2 separate regions of the Homo sapiens genome follow, and region 2 is linked to region 1. Evidence: promoter capture Hi-C in 16 types of primary human blood cells and fetal thymus (Javierre and others, 2016). All regions are on one chromosome and are shown on one strand. The core of a region is centred on a gene start or on the middle of the fragment in contact, and the rest is flanking DNA. Distances in the headings are between cores, read along the strand shown.

Region 1 (4,046 bases), core at 677-3,176:
TTCCGTTTCTTTGACATAGCAGGAAAATCTTATTAGGTGATGTAAATGAACCTTGTCACTTGCAAATATAAACTGTCGCGCATCTTGGGTGAACAGCTAAGTGCAGAACTGTTTCAAAAACTTGAAGGTAAATGGATGTCTTATTTGCAGCTAAACCATCATACTCATGTCAAATCTATTCATTGGAATAGGATACTGAAGATACATAATACAATTTTTTTGCTGAAATTTAAAAGTTTCATAATCCACTTAAGAGGCATATTTCAGAATAAAATAATTCTCTGTTTTGGAATTAAAGCACAGGCTTGGAGCAGTCCAGTCCACAGAAGTATAATGCAATCTATCCATATAATTTTAAATTTTCTAATAGCCACATTTAAAAAAGTAAAATGAAATGAATAACATTAACTTCAAAATAATTTTTTACTCAAATATATAAAAATATTACATTTCGACTTATAAAAAATATAAAATTGATGGGCTATTTTTACTTTTTTTGTATTTGATCATTAAAATCTTTCATGTATGTTACATGTATGGCACACCTCAACCAGTATGTTAAATTTTGACTGGAAATACTTTCTTTTTATTTGTTTTTATTTTTTGTCTTAGTGTTCTTCAAAATGATTTTTATTTAGAACACAATTTATTATTGCAAAAGTAGATTCTATATCCAAGTTGTTCTAAATACTAAAAAAGTTTTCCAATAGCTTACTGAACATTAGTTTTTATATTTAAATAAAAAATGAGATTTAAAATTCATTTCTTCAATCACACTAGCTTCATTTCATATATTCAATACACGTAAGGCAGTGTAGAATTGGAGCTATGCGAGACCAAGCTGGGTTAGAATCCTGACTTGGCCTCTTTCCAGCTGCTTGTCCTTGGGAATTTACCTAGCCCTCTCCAAGCTTCAGTTCTAGCTTCGAATTGCAGGCGGGGAAACACCACACTGAATATGTTTTAACTCCTACCTGCAAAGCTAACAGCAGAAGACAAACACCCGCTATTTGTTTCTCCCTTCATGGAAGTGGTGGACTCACTGCATGATATAATAAAAATCAGAACCAATCAACGTAGGGATAGTTAAGTAAATTTCTTTATTCCATACTCTGAAGCCATAAAATACTAATAACTAATTAATCACTAATTTATTTAATCACCAATTAATATTGAAATCGGTTGTTATTAAGGAAGAAAACCGTAATATTAGGAATAGCACGACGGCTGCCCGTGTGCTCAGGAAAAACCTAGAAGGGTCTGCCACCCATCCATTAACAGCGGTTATAGGAAGCAACAGAATGGGGGCAGGGCCCAGCCGGCACACGCTTCAGTTTATATTTCTTGTCAGTTAATTTCCAAAAACGTTGTTCTAAAAAGGAGATATAATACTGTTTTAGTTTAAGGGGCAAATCTCAAATGTGCTGAAACGACTACGCTTTTCCCTCAGTCTGGAATGTGATTTTAAATCTAGCTTAACTATACTATAATAAAAGGCCACATGAAAATACTTTGTCAGAACGAAAAACACGCCGCCTTAAATCCGCTTTCGGTTGGCGGTTTCCCGCCAGCGGAACGGAAGCAAAACCGCCTTTGACGTCAAGGGAAGAGTCCCCTCCCAGTTACTACGGTGAAGTCTATGCGGCCATCTTTACTGTGGTCATCTCGTACCAAGCGTGTCGTAGTGGGGCTGTTGGGGCCCCACAGAAAGTCAGCGGAACGTGAAATGGGAAAGGAATCATGCGACTCTGTAATAAGAAGCTGACAGAACCATGAAGGATCAGGGACTGAAAGCATTAGATAAGTTGTTAGTGGGATGCAGGTTCCACAGGCAAGCGGAACGATTCAAGCGAATTAGTAAAGTTTCTGCCCGGATCTTGAAAGCCGCTTCCGTTGCTCAGCGGAAGTGTCGGTCGCAAGAGGACAGACGCCTCGAAGAATCCGCTATCGGCTGTCTGCACAACCGGAATCATGTCGAGTTTGGCGGTGAGAGACCCGGCAATGGATCGATCACTGCGTTCCGTGTTCGTGGGGAACATTCCATATGAGGCAACTGAGGAGCAGTTAAAGGACATTTTCTCGGAGGTTGGTTCTGTTGTCAGTTTCCGGCTGGTATACGATAGAGAGACGGGAAAACCCAAGGGCTATGGCTTCTGCGAATACCAAGACCAGGAGACCGCGCTTAGTGCCATGCGGAACCTCAATGGGCGGGAGTTCAGTGGGAGAGCGCTTCGGGTGGACAATGCTGCCAGTGAAAAGAATAAGGAGGAGTTAAAGAGCCTTGGGCCTGCAGCGCCCATTATTGACTCACCCTATGGGGATCCCATCGATCCAGAAGATGCCCCTGAATCGATTACCAGAGCAGTAGCCAGTCTCCCCCCGGAGCAGATGTTTGAGCTGATGAAGCAGATGAAGCTCTGTGTCCAAAACAGCCACCAGGAAGCTCGAAACATGTTACTTCAAAATCCACAACTGGCTTATGCACTGTTGCAGGCACAAGTAGTGATGAGAATCATGGATCCAGAGATTGCTCTGAAAATTCTGCATCGGAAGATACATGTCACACCACTGATCCCAGGCAAATCTCAGTCTGTGTCTGTCTCTGGCCCTGGCCCTGGCCCTGGCCCTGGGCTCTGCCCAGGACCTAATGTTCTGCTGAACCAGCAGAATCCTCCAGCTCCTCAGCCTCAGCATTTGGCTAGAAGACCTGTGAAGGACATTCCTCCTCTGATGCAGACTCCTATCCAGGGTGGAATTCCAGCTCCAGGGCCAATACCAGCTGCAGTTCCCGGAGCTGGTCCTGGTTCCTTAACTCCTGGAGGAGCAATGCAGCCCCAACTTGGAATGCCAGGGGTTGGCCCAGTGCCTTTAGAGCGGGGACAAGTGCAGATGTCAGATCCTAGAGCTCCTATACCTCGCGGACCCGTGACTCCTGGTGGTCTGCCTCCTCGAGGACTGTTAGGAGATGCTCCAAATGACCCACGTGGAGGGACTTTGCTTTCAGTCACTGGAGAAGTGGAGCCCAGAGGTTATCTGGGTCCACCCCATCAGGGTCCCCCCATGCATCATGCCTCTGGTCATGACACTCGTGGCCCTTCCTCACATGAGATGAGGGGAGGGCCATTAGGAGATCCCAGACTGCTAATTGGAGAGCCCAGAGGCCCCATGATAGATCAAAGGGGTCTACCTATGGATGGTAGAGGTGGTAGAGATTCTCGAGCGATGGAGACTCGTGCCATGGAAACTGAGGTCTTAGAGACACGTGTAATGGAGAGGAGAGGAATGGAGACCTGTGCGATGGAAACCAGAGGGATGGAAGCAAGGGGCATGGATGCAAGAGGATTGGAGATGAGGGGCCCTGTCCCCAGTTCAAGAGGCCCTATGACTGGTGGAATTCAGGGTCCTGGTCCCATTAATATAGGGGCAGGTGGCCCTCCTCAGGGACCCAGACAGGTCCCAGGCATTTCAGGGGTGGGGAATCCTGGAGCTGGTATGCAGGGTACAGGCATACAAGGAACAGGCATGCAGGGAGCAGGCATACAAGGAGGAGGGATGCAGGGGGCAGGCATACAAGGAGTCAGTATACAAGGAGGAGGTATACAAGGAGGAGGTATACAGGGGGCAAGCAAGCAAGGTGGAAGCCAGCCTAGCAGTTTTAGTCCTGGGCAGAGCCAGGTCACTCCACAGGATCAGGAGAAGGCAGCTTTGATCATGCAGGTTCTTCAACTGACTGCAGATCAGATTGCCATGCTGCCCCCTGAGCAAAGGCAGAGTATCCTGATTTTAAAGGAACAAATCCAGAAATCCACTGGAGCGTCTTGAAAGGTTTTAGAAAATATTTGGCTGTAGTCTCAAATTTTATTCTGTAGCATGGAGAATGGGTGCAAAAAGCTGACTTCTGTATCCCCACACTTGGATTAGGGTTTCCCTCCTCCTAGAACCTAATCTTATTTTTTGTTCTTTTTCTTTCTTTCTGTTTTCCTTTTTTTTTTAATTGAGGGTGGGGGGAGGAGGGAGTGCGTCTGTTCACTTTAAGTTACTTTAAA
Region 2 (4,046 bases), core at 1,025-3,524, 690 kb after region 1:
AGTGGCTGCAAATCCTTTATTGACTAAAACAGGAGTCAAACCAAATAAAATAAATTTAGGCACTTAAATGTTGATATGTTTATGTATATAAATCAATCATTAAATAATTTTTGGCAGCCATTTCTCCTGGTTGATTCATAAATTACTTATAGACAAATCCTAAATCTTTTCAAAAATGCTTCTATGAGGTTACTTCTAAGTATGAAGTTTCAAGGTTTCTAGGGAAAATTTTTCCATTAATTCTTCGTTAAACATTTTTTTTATTTTGTTTGGTGATTTCAGTTGCGGGTGAATTTACCCACCATGGAACAAGAGGTGGTGTCTGGAGACATTCTGGTTGCCCTAACTGGTGGTCAGGAGGGCTGTTACTGGTGGGTAGAGTATTACTGGTGTTACTGGTGGGTAGAGTCCAAGATGCTGCTAAACATTCTAAAATACACAGGACAGCACTCTCTCCCCTCAACACCGCCCCCTCCCCACCCACACACACACACAACAAATAATTCTCTGATCCAAAATTCAAAATATCCATAGTTGCAAGGCTAAGAAACACCATTTGCCCAGTGATTCTCAGTGGGGGCGTTACTGCCCCCTTGTGGTAACTTAGGAAATTTATTGGTGCTTTTTAGTTATGATGTGCTAGGATCCACTGGAGAATCCCACAATTTGAATAATTATCCTTCAACCCCTGTGCCTTCAAATCTCTCACCAGCCATTCAGGCAGGAGAAAAATCTGTACATATTATCTAAGCCTAGAATCAAAGTCTGTCTTACATGTAAACCAAGTATTTATTTTTGCGTGGCTATAAATTAAGTTTGCTGTAAATTCAACAAAAATGTAAATTAAGGAAAGAGAGTACTTTATTTTGTTAAAAACTTTACAGAGAGATGTTCATCACTTTGGAAAACTGAGTCACTTGATACAAACACCACCAGTGGCACCAGAGTAACCTGTAAAACACATCAGTACTAGTATTTGTTTTCAGTTGTTACATCAAATGATTTCAGGATTAGGAACAAGCACTTCACATCTTCAGTTCAACTTACTGTGTAGCCCTTTTCCAGCAATCATCTCCAACTTGGACAGTTCAAGCACTTACTAAAGCAAGTATTATTTCATGATACATGTTCCCCTATCTTTTGTTTATATTATAGTTAGGATACCACATATATATATATGCATAGATACACACAATTATGTGTGCAGATGGGTTATATTATTGATGAATTTAATTTCAGCATAGTGAGGGAGCATTAGGAAATATCTGGTATGAAAAGGAAAGCATTGTCTGAAATAGGGTTATAAATCACTACTCTTGCCCATCATAATCTTTTGGGATCTTGATTCTGTTTTCCAACATAATAAGCAATCCTCACAGCATCTTGCCCTGTGCAAATCTGAGTGAGATGCCATTAATGGCCTCACCCAAATAATTGGCAAAGATGCTTAATGTAGAGCGAATGATTTACGCTGGGTAGTAGAATTCGCTTTTCTGCACGTGCTCCATGGAATTCCACATCTACCTTTCAACCTACATTCTTAACACAACTTCGCACAAACAATGGCCCTGGAAAATTCCCACAAATCAGAGGCCAATCATGCTTCCCAGTGGAGCCACCCTCTCCTGACCCCTCCTTCCACTGCTGAAGGCACTTGGACATTTCCAGTAAAGTTTCTATAAAATGAAATAACCATTTGAATTATACCTGAGATCTTTTACAATAAAGAGAAGAGAAACTTTCCAAAATCTCTGATAGCAGGCGTATGAGAATCAAAGCAAAGAAGATACAATTTTGAGGAGAATGGAGAATGATACTTCTCTCTGGGTAGCATGAATGTTCTGGCAGATTTTCTTTCCAAAAGTACGATTCCATATTGAACAATGCATTGTCAAATATTTTATATCTTCAAGAAGTCCAAAACCATTCCCAGAAATCTGGATTCTTTGAACCACCTTGTATGAGAATGTTTCTGAATTAAATAGACCCAGAAAGAAATATATTATCATAAATTTCTAAATTATATTTTCAGATGATAACTGGAATGTCCATTGTATAATTTATTTTATATAAAACTAATTCACTAATAAGACTATTCAACTAGCTCATGCTGTCTCTTAAATTTTTCTTATATTCTTAAGAGAAAGCTTAACTTTTCAGTGGTATGATAGTAAAATAGAAATACCATAACAGAAATCCTCAATTTCTGTTATAGACTACATTAACAAAAACCCTCTAGTAAAGCTAAAAGTATGTGTGTGCACCTTAGATTGAGGTGGAGGTGGGAGAACTATTTAAATTCTACTTTTAAATGCAGAGAATAATGTTAACTTAAAAATAGTTTATCCCTAAATATAACTGTGTTTCAAAATGTATAATTTAATTGGCATTTAAAGCTTTTCTAAATTAGTTAGATAAATACACCAAAGAAAATCTATCTTTATCCTAATATATCTATTTGTGGTTTATTCCATTTGTTCTTTGTAACCCTAAAGAAACAAGTTACCAAAATTATAGGGAATTAAGGCATTGAAATTATAGCATAGAAGGGTTTTTTTTCCTTCTAAAATTACAGGTAAGAAAACTACAGTCTACAGAAGTTGTCTCACATTTTAAGCCCAATTTTGTTTCCCTATAAATCCTTATAAAACTCATACCATGAAAACAAGAGAACCACAAACCATCAGAGATGTGTGACATTTCATGGAGCCACCAGAGACTAATACTTTCATCTGAACCAAAGGACAATCAATCAACACCATATCCTTTGAAAAATAAGAAAATGGGAGAAGGAGGGAGGGCAGATGGAAATGGCAGGTGAAAAAGCCTCCACAAAACCTTGTATCATAAATACCTAAATGTGTCCTTTACTCTCTTCATCTCATCCAAAATCTTTTTTTTCCATGGGCTCAGCAGACTTCAGAAGTCACAGCTCCATATCTTGGGCTTGAAGGAAGATAAATACAGGTGTATGGTACAACTGTGACCTTATTTGAACACAGCATCTTTATAGATGTAATCAAGACGACATCATATTGGATTAGGGTGGGCCCCAAATTGAATGACTAGTAATCTTACAAGAGGGGAATTTAGACACACATACTCACAGAGAAAAGACAACCATGTGAAAATGAAGGCAAAGATTGGAATGCAAGTCCAAGTCATGGAATGGTTAAGGTTGCCAGCAACCACCAGAAGCTAGAAAGAGGCAAGGGAAGCTCCTCTCCTAGGGTTTTCAGAAAGAGCATGGCTCTGCTGACACCTTGAATTCGAACTTCTAGTCTACAGAGCTGGGAGTAAATAAATTTCTGTTGCTTGAAGCCACCCAGTTTGTGGCGATGTGTTCCAGCAGAACTAAGAAATGAATGCATATAGTCACCCTTCTTGCAGTATATACCTAGAAAGCTACTTCTCAAGGAGTTATAGCAAATTTCCTGGTCCCAAATTCCCCAAGCCTACCTATTAAGCCAGAATCTTTGGAGATGGGCCTAGGAGTCTTCACTGCAACAAATGGAACCCAAGAGATGTTTATACGTACTACAGTTTGAGAAGAACTGGGCATATGAATGATCTGAAGGTCTTCACAAAGCCCAATTTCCTCCAATTTTCCCCTATGTTCCTGCTGTTGATTATCATGTAGTATAGTGTCAGAGCCCTAGAGCCAGACGTCTTGGACCAGCAAGCCTTGGGATGAGTCACTTGATGTGTTTGCACTGAGTCTCCTCCTCTGTACAGAGCACATGGAACAATTCCTGCCTGGAGGCACCATGAAACCACCATGGGATTGTTGAGAAGAGCAAATTAATTCATGCCAATAAAGTACCTTGCACAAAGTAAGCTCTTAACAATGCTGAATTAGTATTTCCTACTTTCCCATTATATCTCAACTAAAATTCCTTCTGAATCACATTTTAAATTTGACTTTGTCTCCAAAACACTAATATTAAAACTACAGAAGCAATGGCCATTGTTTAGGGCATGCTTACAACAGGTCTTTTGCATAACGTTAGTTTCAGGTGGGCCTTCTTATTCTCATTTACGGGGGA

Evidence for each region. The method cuts DNA at HindIII sites, captures the fragments that hold promoters and counts their contacts. A CHiCAGO score of 5 or more calls a contact.
Region 2: a fragment that was not itself captured here is called in contact with the fragment with the promoter of CSTF2T in region 1 in 1 of 17 cell types (megakaryocytes); the score reaches 7.0 in megakaryocytes.

The regions. Positions count from the first base shown.
Region 1 is chr10:51,697,475-51,701,520 of GRCh38, reverse strand. It overlaps CSTF2T (cleavage stimulation factor subunit 2 tau variant), which reads left to right and starts at 1,926. Exons shown (of 1, transcript NM_015235.3): 1 at 1,926-4,046. The coding sequence starts at 1,972. The coding sequence ends at 3,822. The region is part of intron 3 of PRKG1 (protein kinase cGMP-dependent 1); the gene reads right to left. RefSeq lists a silencer at 798-1,092 and enhancers at 846-1,534, 1,659-2,238. The HindIII fragment of the contact is 5,025 bases long and covers 914-4,046 here.
Region 2 is chr10:51,007,645-51,011,690 of GRCh38, reverse strand. It overlaps a transcript of PRKG1 not described here. Among named protein-coding and RNA genes, the nearest start is that of PRKG1, 65 kb to the left of the region's middle. The HindIII fragment of the contact is 249 bases long and covers 2,150-2,398 here.